Regions from separate parts of the Homo sapiens genome. Here all the other regions are linked to region 2. Evidence: promoter capture Hi-C in 16 types of primary human blood cells and fetal thymus (Javierre and others, 2016). All regions are on one chromosome and are shown on one strand. The core of a region is centred on a gene start or on the middle of the fragment in contact, and the rest is flanking DNA. Distances in the headings are between cores, read along the strand shown.

Region 1 (4,375 bases), core at 582-3,081, 320 kb before region 2:
TCTGTGTTCAACTCCCAAGCTACAGACGGGCCCCCTCCTTGGGAGCGCCAGGGATGTTGGCGCCCTGGAGCCCCAGACAGGGAGAGACTCAGAGGGCCCTCACCCTGACACCTGGGGTGTATGTCCAGTTCTCCCAGGGTAGAAGGGGAACCCACAGGAGGTGGACAACCCCGCTTCTCCCGCTGGCCTTTCTTTCCCTCTTCTCTCTTTCTCCTTCTCCTCACAACCTGACCTATGCTATGCTCTCCTGAGCCCTAGCCTTTAAAGTTCCATGAAGCCCTTCTCTTGAGCGAGGCTTTGATGCTTTTCTGGGAGGATCTGGTTACTACTATTCTACCTTTTTTTTTTTTTTTTTTTTTTTTGAGACAGAGTCTCGCTGTGTTGCCCAGGCTGGAGTGCAGTGGCGCAATCTCAGCTCACTGCAACCTCCACCTCCCCGGTTCAAGTGATTCTGCTGTCTCAGCCTCCCAAGTAGCTGGGACTACAGGCATACACCACCATGCCCAGCTAATTTTTGTATTTTTAGTAGAGACAGGGCTTCGCCGTGTTGGCCAGGCTAGTCTCAAACTCCTGACCTCAGGTGATCCTCCTATCTCGACTCCCAAAGTGCTGGGATTACAGGCGTGAGTCCGTGCCCGCCCCACCCATATTACAGATAAGTAAATCTGAGGCCCCGGAGAAGAAGACTAATTGGAAAAGGAGGGAGCAAGAACTCAGGGGTCTCCTGGCTCCTAGACTGAGTGTCTCTCCTGCACCTCCCAAACCTGCTGGGCCACACTTTAGCTGGAGTTGTGTTCACTTTACGTCCAGCTTTGTATCCCCTCCTTGCCTTCCTCCCTGTTCTCAGCTCTGTTTGCAGGCCTGGTGCTGCAGCCATTCCCATCTGGACTCCTCCCAGGGGCCTGGATGGTTTTCTTGCCCTCCCTGTTGGGGGGAGGATGTCCCACTGGACCCAGAAGCCAACCATGTGCCCACTGTCCCTTGCCAGTCCTGCTGCCGGCCACAGAGATGGCATCGCTGCTGTCGCTGCAGGAGGAGAACCAGCTGCTGCAGCAGGAGCTGTCCCGCGTGGAGGACCTGCTGGCCCAGAGCCGTGCCGAGCGCGATGAGCTCGCCATTAAGTACAATGCGGTCAGCGAGAGGGTGGGTGCCGCCCAGGTGGTGGACTAGGCCAGGGTTCCCCTCGTTCAAGGGCAGGGAGGCATCTAGACCAGGCCCACACACGGGGCAAAAGATGGGCCCTGGAGTCAGGTTGGCCTGGGCTTGGATTGAGGCTCTGCCACCTTGAGTGGCGTTGAGCAAATCACTATGCTCTTTAAGCCTGTTTTCTGTAGTGGGGATTGTAATGGGACGTGGAATTGTAGGAATCAAGGAGATAATAGAATAAAGTGCCTGGCACCAGGGGTATTTTGTTCCCATCTGTCCCAGGCCTGTTAGGGGTGTGGGACACGGAGAATGAGATCCCTAAAGATTCCTGCCCCTTGAGTTTCTGGGCATCTCCCATTGCCACGGGCCTTGGGGTTGAGGCGGTGGCTGGATGCTGGCTCGAGGCTGGTGTGGGCACCCGCGGTGTTCTGCAGCCCATCTGGGGCAGCCACAAGACCTGCCGCCACTGCCTATTGGAATGAGTTCCAGGCAGGGAAGGAAGGAGAAGCAGGCCTGTCTTCATGTCCAGGCAGGATTCACATCACCCGTGCTGCAGGCTTGTGGGGGTCCCAGGGTGTGGGGCGGGAGCTGGGTGTGAGCCGGTGCGAGGGGTGCGGGATGCTCTTGATGCACTGTCTGCTTTGGGCCTCCGGGTGGCCGGGAGGTGGCCCTGGGAAGTTGGTGGTGGCTGAAGATTGGTAAGGGACACTCGCAGCTGGGACAGAGTGTATGTGTGCAGATGAGAGGCATGCAGGTGGCAATAACGTATTAACAGTAGCTACTGTTTATTGAGTGCCTACTATGTGCCAGGCGCGTGCTGAGTGTTTCACATTTAATACACCAAGGTCGGGACCATTATGATGCCCATGTAACAGAGGAGAAAACAGAGGCTCAGGGAGGGGAAGCACCATGCTGGGGGCACACAGCCAGTTAAAGTTAGACACCAGGTCTTCCAACTCCCAGCCCAGGGCTCTGTTTGGTTTCTAAACTAACCCAGTCTAGAAACAAAGTTCTGAAGTTTCATTTCCTGTGTATGGGAAGAGACACTGGGCTAGGGATTTCAGGGCACAGCTGGCCCCCACAAAGTTGGAAGGGACCCAGAGAGGCAGGGGCTGGCCCAGGGTCCCCTGTGTGGTAGTGGCAGAGCTAGGGTTGGCATGGGACCCCTGAGCTGGACTTGTCCAGGCTGGAGCCCGCATTGGCAGGAGGGTGTGTGTTCCTGTGTATGACTGTGGGGTGTGCCCGTGTCCTGGGATTTGCCTGGCTGGACAAACCCACGACTAGTTGGGACTTGTAGAGGAGCAGAGTAGGCGGCCCGCAGTGGCCCCTGGCATGAGGACAGTGGAGAGCTCGTTTCCCCAGGGTCTGCAGCGGGTGTGTAGGGCACGCTGGCCCCAGTCATGAATTGTGGGTGGTGATGGGGCCCTGAGCCAGGCACCCCTTTCTTTTGGTCCATGCATGGCACAGTGCCACACCCCCAGGGCCGCCTCTTAAATGCCACCTTCTGAAGCTAGCCCTGCCCCCAGGTTGGCAGGGAAGGGAAGAGGTGGGAGGTAGCAGGTTCCTCCTCTGCTGGGACACAGCTGCTGGGGCTGGGACTGCAGCACAGGGGGTCTGGGTTAGTCTAGAAAGCTCCCTCCTGTGGTTAGTGGGGGCCCAAATGGCACGCAGAGGGCGCCCGCTGCTTCAGTTGTCCTCTATCCACCATGGTTTGAATGAGGCCCCACCTGGAGGCAGGGGTGGAACAGGAATGACCTCAAAGGCCTTTCCTGGAGGGTGGGTCCCCAGAGAACTTCAGAGCCTAGAGATCACCTCATCACAGATAGGGAAAGTAAGTCCGGGAGAGGGGCATGATAGGCCCAAGGTCAGTGGTGGTCCTGGGATGAGACCCTTGGTCCAGGGCTCTGCAGTTGGGCAACATTCTCTTTCCCTGCCACCCCCTTGTCCCCATGGCCACAGGTGGCAGTGCCTGCCCCTGTGGCCCTCACTGGCATGTTGGGCTGGGTTGGTGGGCAGTCAGCGAGATTGTTCTGATCTTTCCAACCCTGCAGCACCCCTGGCATGGGGAGCGGAGGGAGGGTCAGGTCTGTGTCCTGTTAACTGCATGTCCTGCAGGGAAACTGAGGCACTCCCAGAGGCCACCTCCCAGCCGAGAGAGAGGACCTCAGGGCCCCCATGGGGGTCCCCCCTTCTTGCTGTCCCTGAGAAGCAGATGTAGGCGCAGCTGGGAATGGAAAGGAGGGAGTGGTCACGCCTCCCTTGGCTCCAGAGGACAGACCCCCTGGGCTCCCTCGTGTCCATAGCAACCTGGAAAGAGTAAATTGAATGGCGGTCTGAGGGCAGCAGTTGCTAGGGGAGACAGTCAACTTCTTTCATCTCTGGCTTAGTGGCAGCCTCCTTCCCTTTTGAATTGCAAGTAAAATTGAAAGGCTGTTTTGCTCACGGTGAAGTTTGTGGAAAGGGGTGAGGTGTGGCCGAGAGGGCCCTGGCTCTGGTTCTGAGCACTGGAGAAGGGGGAGGAGAACCCAGCAACGGCCTGAACCCCTCTGTGTCCCAGAGGCAAACAGCACCTGCTTCACACAGATATGCAGTGTGTACACGACATGGGCTACACTGGGCCCCACACAGACACACAGATGCACAAAACATTCCACAAACAACATAGTGAGACCCTAAAACCAGGCCACACAGAAACACTCCAATTCACAGAATATGCACAGTGTTAGCCGCACACACAGCCAGATGCCACACAACCCCACACAGGCACAGAACAGTCCCCCCACCACCGGGGACCTATAACAACCATATGCAGATGACACAGCACGCTATCTCCCACCTCATGGGTGCACACGGACAGGAAAAGCATACAGTTCAACACAGCCACCAATCGGCCCACAAAGGTATGCCCAGATGCACAAAGTGTGTATCACACATACCAGGGAGCCCAGGCACACCCCCCAGACCCACCCACATGCGGTTGTACACTTGCCTCACCGACACACAGACATATACCCTGATACACACAGCCAGGCCCAACACCCGCGCCACAACATAGACCTTCAGCCACAGATGCCGCCTTAGCCGTTCACGGGAAGGCTCAGATGCACCAAACAGTCGACGTGAACTCAGCACCCACACACTACACACACAGTGTCCTGCGTGGAGACAAATGACAAAATACACCCCACTCGCACCTAGTGAGAGCCACCAACATCAGTGCACAGCCTGT
Region 2 (3,999 bases), core at 1,487-3,986:
TAACAGAGGTGAGAGTTCCCCAGCAGGGCTGGTTCCCAGGGCCACAGGCCACTACAGTTCCCTTTCTGGTTTTCGTTTTGTTTTGTTTTCTTTTCTTTTGTTTGAGACCGAGTCTTGCTCTGTCACCCAAGCTGGAGTGCAGTGGTGCTATCACAGCTCATTATAGCCTTGAATTCTTGTGCTCAAGCGATCCTCCCACCTCAGCCTCCTGAGTAGCTAGGAATACAGGCACAGGCCACCATGCCCAGCTAATTGCTAATTTATTTTTTACGGAGCTGGGGTTTTGCTATGTTACCCAGGCTGGTCTCAAACTCCTGGGCTCAAGCGATCCTCCCATCTTGGCCTCCCAAAGTGCTGGGATTACAGGTGTGAGCTACTGTGCCTGGCCCAATTCCCTTCCATTTTTGTGTCTGAAGCTTCTAAGTTACCTGGCTTCAGTGGTCTGATTTTGGATGCCTGAAATCATCACCCTCTCATCCTACACATTTGCTGCTGCCTCAAATTACACCGTTTGATACTCACTCACTTTATTTTAGCTTTTGTTGTGGAGTAAGAGGGCAAAAAGTTGCTGCCTATTAGTCATTGACACTTTAGTCTGAATTAACCACAAACCTGTTTCTAAAAGTTGGTATTAACAGAGGAGAAGTGAAGGCATGAGTCTCCTTCCAAAGACATATACAGTTCTCCGAGAAAGAGGCAGGTAGTGGGCCAGCACCCCAGGGAAAGCCCCTACTTTCTGCATCTATTCCCCATCTGTGCTCACAAGAAGGCTAGGGAGACTAAGGCTTCCTCCTGAGCTCGAACTCTTACCCAGGGCTCCCAAGGCTGACTCAGCCATCAAGCCATTCCACAGCTGAAAAAAGTGAAGCTGTCCCTTGACCCAGAAGCCCAGCAGTTCTCCTTGAAAAGAACATCTTTCCCAAAAACTGAGACATGGGAATGACAATCTCAGGGTCCTGTTGAGGCCCTTGAACTGGTGCAGATGTCCCAGCTGGAGATGCTGGGGAGCGGGTCCTGGTCCCCATCCTGTCTCAGGCTGTCAGCACTGCCAGGGAGAAGGGAGGAAACCTCTATTCAGCACCTCCTGAGCCTCCGCCAGGCAGGGTGCGTCTTCACTATTATCTCCGCCAGGGCCAGTGATTAGCTGCATTTTCTACAGATGAGGAAACCGAGTCTCCAAGAGGGGGGACACTGACACCCAAGGCCCTATAGTGGGTGCACGGTGGAGCCTGCCTCTGAACCCAAGACTTCTCTCCCCAGAGCCCTTGCTCCTGCTCTTCCAGGAGCCTGAATGCCCCTCTGACTTCGGTTTCCCACCTGACGACTGAGCTTTCCTACTCTGACATGCCAAGCTCCCCCTGGCTGGAGAGAGTTCTCACCCTCATCATTTACCGCTTTCAGAGGTTTTTGGGACCTAATAACAGCAACAATAGTAATACAATAACGCCAAGCTCCATACCAGAGCTCTACCAACGCTGGCCCCTGAGGCCTCACAGCAACCATTTTTCAGACGAGAAAAGTGAGGCACGAACAATTAAGAAAGTTGCCCGGCCGGGCATGGTGGCTCACGCCTGTAATCCCAGTACTTTGGGAGGCCAAGTCGGGTGGATCAAGAGGTCAGGAGATCGAGACCATCCTGACTAACACGGTGAAACCCCGCCTCTATTAAAAATACAAAAAATTAGCCGGGAGCCGTGGCAGGCGCCTGTAGTCCCAGCTACTCGGGAGGCTGAGGCAGGAGAATGGCGTGAACCCGGGAAGTGGAGCTTGCAGTGAGCCGAGATCACGCCACTGCACTCTAGCCTGGGTGACAGAGCGAAACTCTGTCTCAAAAAAAAAAAAAAAAAGAAACTTGCCCAAGGTCGCCCATCCAGGAAGCAGCTGAGGCAGGGCTGAAACCCAGGTCTGGCTCTAAAATCCATTAAAAAAAAAAAGTTGGTGTTTCTCAAAGGGCACCAAAATGCTTTGGGGGTGCTTATTAAAAAATCCAGAGGGCCGGGTGCTGTGGCTCATGCCTGTAATCCCAGCACTTTGGGAGGCCGAGGTAGGTGGATCACCTGAGGTCTGGAGTTCAAGACCAGCCTGACCAACATGGAAAAACCCCGTCTCTACTAAAAATACAAAATTAGCCGGAAGTGGTGGCACACGCCTATAATCCCAGCTACTCGGGAGGCTGAGGCAGGAGAATTGCTTGAACCTGGGAGGCGAAGGTTGCGGTGAGCCGAGATCGCACCATTGCATTCCAGCCTGGGCAACAAGAGTGAAACTCCGTCTCAAAAAAAAAAAAAAAAATCCAGAGGCCAGGCTGCACCCCTAACCTGCTGGATCAGAGTGGACAACAGACCTGGGAATCCGCATTTTCACCAGCTTCCCCAGCAGAGTAAGAAAGCTCCCCATTATAGTCTCTGAAAATGCAGAAAATGGAGGTGAGGAAGCAAGAAGCGTCCGAGATCAATATCATATATCTCTGCACCCCCTCAACAGCACCTGCCCCCAACAGTTCCTGGTGCCTAGCCAGGTACCTGTGGGGACTTGCTTCCCAAGAAATTAACTTCCTGGGTGCCGGGGTCGGGACAACAGGTTCGTATACAAATACTGGGTCCCTTCCAGCCAATCCTGAGCTCTCAGCTCTGGGAAGGGGCTGGGCTTTCATGACTGGAGCCAATGAATTGGCACCCTGGGCTGGAGGGGTGGGGCCAGGGGCTTTTAAACCTCATCCTAAGGGGCCTCAGGGGCAGTGTTGGGGTTGGCGGCCACAGCTAAGTCCAACACCAGCATGTCGCTGCAGAGAATCGTGCGTGTGTCCCTGGAGCATCCCACCAGCGCGGTGTGTGTGGCTGGCGTGGAGACCCTCGTGGACATTTATGGGTAAGAGTCAGAGGCCTAGTGGTTTGCAGGCCCTTGGTGCTGATGCCCTTGGACCTTCCTCCCTGCAGGCTGGGCAGGGCTTCTTCAGGGCCCACTCCCCAGCCTTGGCCTCGGAACAGCAGCCAATCAGGGAAGCTTGGGTCCTCCTCTTGCTCTACTGAGTTTCCTGAAGACCTTAGCCAGGGAATTTGAAGTTTGGGAGGCTGAGCCAGGTAGAAGAGGCTTCAGTGACTGAGCTCCAGACCGGGGGCTTGGAGGGGGCTGGTGCCGCGAAGAGATGGCACTTTTCTATGTCCAAGGGATGCTGCAGGTTGGGCTGAGGATCTGTCTGGGGCACACAAGAATAGGAACAGGCAGATATCCCCAGCCCCATCCTGAGCCTATGAGCCTAGAAACAGAGCATGAATCATTTTTAAAAAATAAGTTAATACATAGCACTTACCATGTGCCAGGCACTATTCTAAGAGCTTCACAAGTCTCTTGAGTTAAGTTTTGAACTTTAATCTTGAATTTAACCCTTACAACAACCCTGTGAGCTAGGCTTATTATTAGCATCATCTCATCAGACAAATGAGAAAACCGAGGCAGAGAGGGCAAGCCATTTGCTCAAGTCACACAGTTACTAAGTGGCAAAGCCAGGGTTTAAACCCGCTTGTGGTCTTACTCAGGAGTCTTATGGTTTTAGCTGCTCTGATACTTGGAAAATAAAGATTTCCAACCTGGTTTCCTCTAGACACTCAATGCCCATGCATTATGCTCCTACTGTGTGCCAGGTCATGCCTTTGAGGCCCATGGTAGAGGGAGGTAAGGCCTTATCTTCTCTCTCTTAGGAAGAAAAGAGGGTTAGGGTAGGGTTTTAAGAGCTGGGCTCTGGGGACCACCAGGGAGCTGGCTTCTTAGGCTTTTGGGGAGAATCCAGGGTCCTGGCTTGGAGGTAATCAGGATACTGGGAGGGGAGGGTGCAGAACTGTGGGACAGCTCTCACCTCTCAAGTCTCCCAGCCCTCTCCTCAGGCCAGGTTTCTCAACCTCAGCACTGCTGTCACGATACCTCTTTGTCATGGGGGCCACCCTGTGCACTGTAGGATGGAGAGCAGCATTCTGGGCCTCTCTTTGCTAGATACCAGCAGCA
Region 3 (3,928 bases), core at 283-2,782, 280 kb before region 2:
GGTTGATGGCACTCTGGGCACTAGTAGTTAGCCAGCAATGGGATGGGGCCCAGGTGGCAGTAGGCTGAGCCAGCAGGAGTGCTTAGGAACACTGGGTCTCAATGATGGAGGCCCAGAGAGAAGTGGGAAGGGTGTGGATTGGGCATGCCAGGTGGAGGTCACAGTGGGAGCAGAGGTATAGAGGCCAGATGGGAACAGCCCCGATTGTTCTGGCTGTCCTCCTGCCAGGTGGCCGACAGCGAGGTGAAGGCAGGGACCCTGCAGCTGACCGTGGAGCGGCTGAATGGGGCCCTGGCTAAGGTGGAGGAAAGCGAGGGGGCCCTGCGGGACAAGGTGCGGGGCCTGACAGAGGCCCTGGCCCAGAGCAGTGCCAGCCTCAACAGCACCCGGGACAAGAACCTGCATCTGCAGAAGGCTCTGACCGCCTGTGAACATGACCGCCAAGTACTCCAGGTCTCGGGCCCAGGGTCTGGCTGGGGTGGGCCCAGTGAGAGAGTCAGCCAGTAAGAGCAGGCTTGGAGGGGGGCCCTGGTAGAGAGCCAGCCAATGGGGCAGTCAGTTGGAGCCAATGAGAGCAGGCTTTGAAGGGAGGGCGTGGGCCCAGTAGACCATCAGCCAAGGAGAAGAGGCTCTGGGTATGTCCCGTAAGAAGACAAGGCTACTGGTATAGACTTGGGGGGACCCAGGGGCAGGGTTTATTGGGGAGAGTTGGGGTCTGAGTGGGTCCCACCTTATGCAGGTCAGTGGATAGGCCGTGGATGGGTTTGGTGTGCACCCCACCCTCCAGGTGAGATGACTGCCTGTTTTATGCTCTGTGGACCTGTCCAGAGGTACAGAATAGAGAGGACTCCTTAGGGCTCCCAGGCCAGCCAGGCACCATCAGCCCCTGTCCCCCAGGAACGGCTGGATGCCGCCCGGCAGGCATTATCTGAGGCACGGAAGCAGAGCAGCTCCCTGGGCGAGCAGGTGCAGACGTTGCGAGGCGAGGTGGCTGACCTGGAACTGCAGCGGGTGGAGGCCGAGGGCCAGCTACAACAGCTACGGGAGGTGAGGGCCAGGGTGTGCCCCCTCTGTCCCCAAGACTGTGAGGCCCTAGGATAGGGTGGGGACGTTCCCACCCATCTCAACCTCATCCCAAACCCTGGTGCAGCCTCCAGTAAGGAAACATGGTTCATTCAGAGCATAGTCCTGTTATACAGATGGAGAAACAGACTGAGAGAGACAGGTTTGGCTTCAGGTGACAATTCTCTGATGTGGGCCTCACCGTCGCCTGCTCTGTGAGTGGGCCAGCCTCATTGTCCCCAAGCTTCAGATAAGTATGCTCAGGCCCAGAGGGATTCGGGGCCTGCCTGGCTTCTGTTGCAGGTGCTGCGGCAGCGGCAGGAGGGTGAGGCTGCAGCCCTGAACACCGTCCAGAAGCTGCAAGACGAGCGGCGGCTGCTGCAGGAGCGCCTGGGAAGCCTGCAGCGCGCCCTGGCTCAGCTGGAAGCTGAGAAGCGGGAGGTGGAGCGCTCAGCCCTGCGGCTGGAGAAGGACCGTGTAGCCCTCAGGAGGACGCTGGACAAGGTAGGCTGCTCCCCAGGCTCTCCCCTCACTTCCTCTGGGGCCTAACCGTGGTGGATCCCACTGCACATCCCCAGGGTCTGCTACCTCTGGTGGGGTTAGGTTATTCCATCAGGGTTCAGGAACCTGAGCCCCCTCAGTAAGCTCCTCCTGGCACCCTGATCTCCTGTGGCTCTCCTGCCTAGGTGGAGCGGGAGAAGCTTCGTAGCCATGAGGACACAGTGCGGCTGAGCGCAGAGAAGGGCCGCCTGGACCGCACCCTCACGGGGGCTGAGCTGGAGCTGGCAGAGGCGCAGAGGCAGATCCAGCAGCTGGAGGTCTGACCCCACCCAGTCCGGGACCCCAACTTCATCCCTAGTATGAGTGCTCAGCAATTCCAGTGGAGCTGATGGCCCAGCCAGCCCAGGGCCCATAACCCCCTCCCCCAGGAGCCCTGAGCCTTCCAGTGACCCAGCGGGCCATGGAGGGATGGGTTCTCCCTAAGGTGTACAGAAAAGACACGAAAGGCCTGTTTGCACGTGAGCCTGTGGGTTCATGTACGTTGTGGCCATGCAGCAGTGTGAGAATCCATGTGACGATTCTTGTGTATGGAGCATGAATCTTGTGCATGGTGTGGCGTGTCTAGGTATTATGAATATGTGTTTGTGTACAGATGTTTTCATGCATGGGGGAGTTGGGCCTTTGCACATACACATGCACCTGTGTGAGTCCAGATAGGTATTTACATGCTTGCCTTTGTGCCTGTGTGTATGATGTCTGAGTGTGTGTGTGTGTGTGTGTGTGTGTGTGTGTGTGTGTGTGTCCATGCACCTGCCTGAGTGGGGGTCATTGGGTGCACTCATCCTGGGCTCGCAGGCTCACTGTCAGGGCCAGCAGGATGGAAGACACACAAGGATCTCTCCTGCCTTCCCCCTCTGCACTGGCCGTGTCCCAGGGAGGTACCTGACAACCCGTCACACATGCACACACACACTCACACTGGGCCAGAACGCGGACCACAGCCCCTCCCTGCAGGCGCAGGTGGTGGTGCTGGAGCAGAGCCACAGCCCGGCCCAGCTGGAGGTGGATGCGCAGCAGCAGCAGCTGGAGCTGCAGCAGGAGGTGGAGCGGCTGCGCAGCGCCCAGGCGCAGACTGAGCGCACCCTGGAGGCTCGGGAGCGGGCCCACCGCCAGAGGGTGCGTGGGCTGGAGGAGCAGGTGTGCAGGCCCCCTTAGAAGGCTGGGCCAGGATGGATGTGTGGGGCTGCAGAAAGAGGAGAGACCCAATCAAGACCTTGTGGGTATAGGCAGTCGATGGCTCCCGTAACCGAAAAGGGTGGGGTTGGCTCTGCGCTGGTGTCAGCCAAGACCAGACCGGGGCCACGGGATGCTCCTGGGCCCCAGGCCTCCTGCCATGGCTCTGTTCCCCCTGGCTCCATGCTCAGGGTAGCCTTCTCCCTGGGTGGCCAGGTGGCCTCAGCAGCTCCAGCCTCAGGTTCTCCCAGCAATCTGTCATCTCAGAAGAGAGCAGGGGCAGAAGTCCTAAGGCTGTCCCTCACTGGCCCGCTCAGATCACATACCCCTTCCTGACCATGCCTGAGCCAGCCTTGTCGGCCGGGCAAGGCTTCTCTGCTAGGCCGGGCTGGGTCACATGTCCACCCCTTGGGTCTGGGCTGAAGCCACGCCCACCCAAGTGATGATGGGGATAAAGAATGGGGGTGGAGTTGCCCTCAAAGGTGCCCAACAGTCAGAAGACGCCTGACTCTGCTATAAGGAACAAAATGAGAAAGGCAGGACAGCCCCTGGCTCTCAGTGAGACCAGACCTTTCCTGAAACTGTGGCACTGTGTCCCTCCGGGTTCCCTGCTGCCTCCCTTTCTCTGAAGCCAGGCTGAGGACCTGGCTGGCCTTACCTTCCCTTTCTTCCCCAGGTGTCCACACTGAAGGGCCAGCTGCAGCAGGAGCTTCGAAGGAGCTCAGCACCCTTCTCCCCACCCTCCGGCCCCCCAGAGAAATGAGCTCCTGCTGGCATCTGGAGAACACCCCTGTGCCTGGGACAGGGGAGGACCCTTCTTTTGGACAGCCCCCCCACCCAGAGCCCGGTCCCTTGGGGGCCTCAAGCTGGGGTGGGATGAGGAGGCGCTCTGCTGGCAGTGCTGAGGACGGGTACTCCAGCTCCAGGCCTGGAGAGGCTTCCCAGCAACACCTGCAGTCCAGCCCCCCTCTTCTAGGATGAGCCACTGTAGATCATTAAAGTTCCTCCTTGAGAGGCTGAGCCGTAGCCAGGATTGGGGAGAGCCCTTGTCTCTGGTCAGCCCTGGAGCATGGGATCGTGGGAAAGAGGAGGGGGACCAGGCCCAGGGCAGGGGTCAGAGGCCCAGGCCCTG

Evidence for each region. Contacts are between HindIII fragments. The CHiCAGO score rates a contact against its expected background, and 5 or more counts as called.
Region 1: a fragment that was not itself captured here is called in contact with the fragment with the promoter of PADI3 in region 2 in 1 of 17 cell types (neutrophils); the score reaches 11.1 in neutrophils.
Region 3: a contact is called between a fragment that was not itself captured here and the fragment with the promoter of PADI3 in region 2, in 2 of 17 cell types (neutrophils and M0 macrophages). The highest score is 14.4, in neutrophils.

The regions. Positions count from the first base shown.
Region 1 is chr1:16,923,337-16,927,711 of GRCh38, forward strand. It overlaps CROCC (ciliary rootlet coiled-coil, rootletin), which reads left to right. Exons shown (of 37, transcript NM_014675.5): 3 at 989-1,143. Among named protein-coding and RNA genes, the nearest start is that of CROCC, 3.6 kb to the left of the region's middle. RefSeq lists enhancers at 1-325, 509-1,119, 2,949-3,559. The HindIII fragment of the contact is 6,523 bases long and covers 1-4,375 here.
Region 2 is chr1:17,246,362-17,250,360 of GRCh38, forward strand. PADI3 (peptidyl arginine deiminase 3) reads left to right here and starts at 2,737. Exons shown (of 16, transcript NM_016233.2): 1 at 2,737-2,868. The coding sequence starts at 2,777. The HindIII fragment of the contact is 2,587 bases long and covers 415-3,001 here.
Region 3 is chr1:16,968,888-16,972,815 of GRCh38, forward strand. It overlaps CROCC (ciliary rootlet coiled-coil, rootletin), which reads left to right. Exons shown (of 37, transcript NM_014675.5): 32 at 229-453; 33 at 898-1,047; 34 at 1,366-1,566; 35 at 1,749-1,880; 36 at 2,578-2,760; 37 at 3,473-3,928. The coding sequence ends at 3,559. Among named protein-coding and RNA genes, the nearest start is that of MFAP2, 9.8 kb to the right of the region's middle. RefSeq lists an enhancer at 3,151-3,928. The HindIII fragment of the contact is 457 bases long and covers 1,305-1,761 here.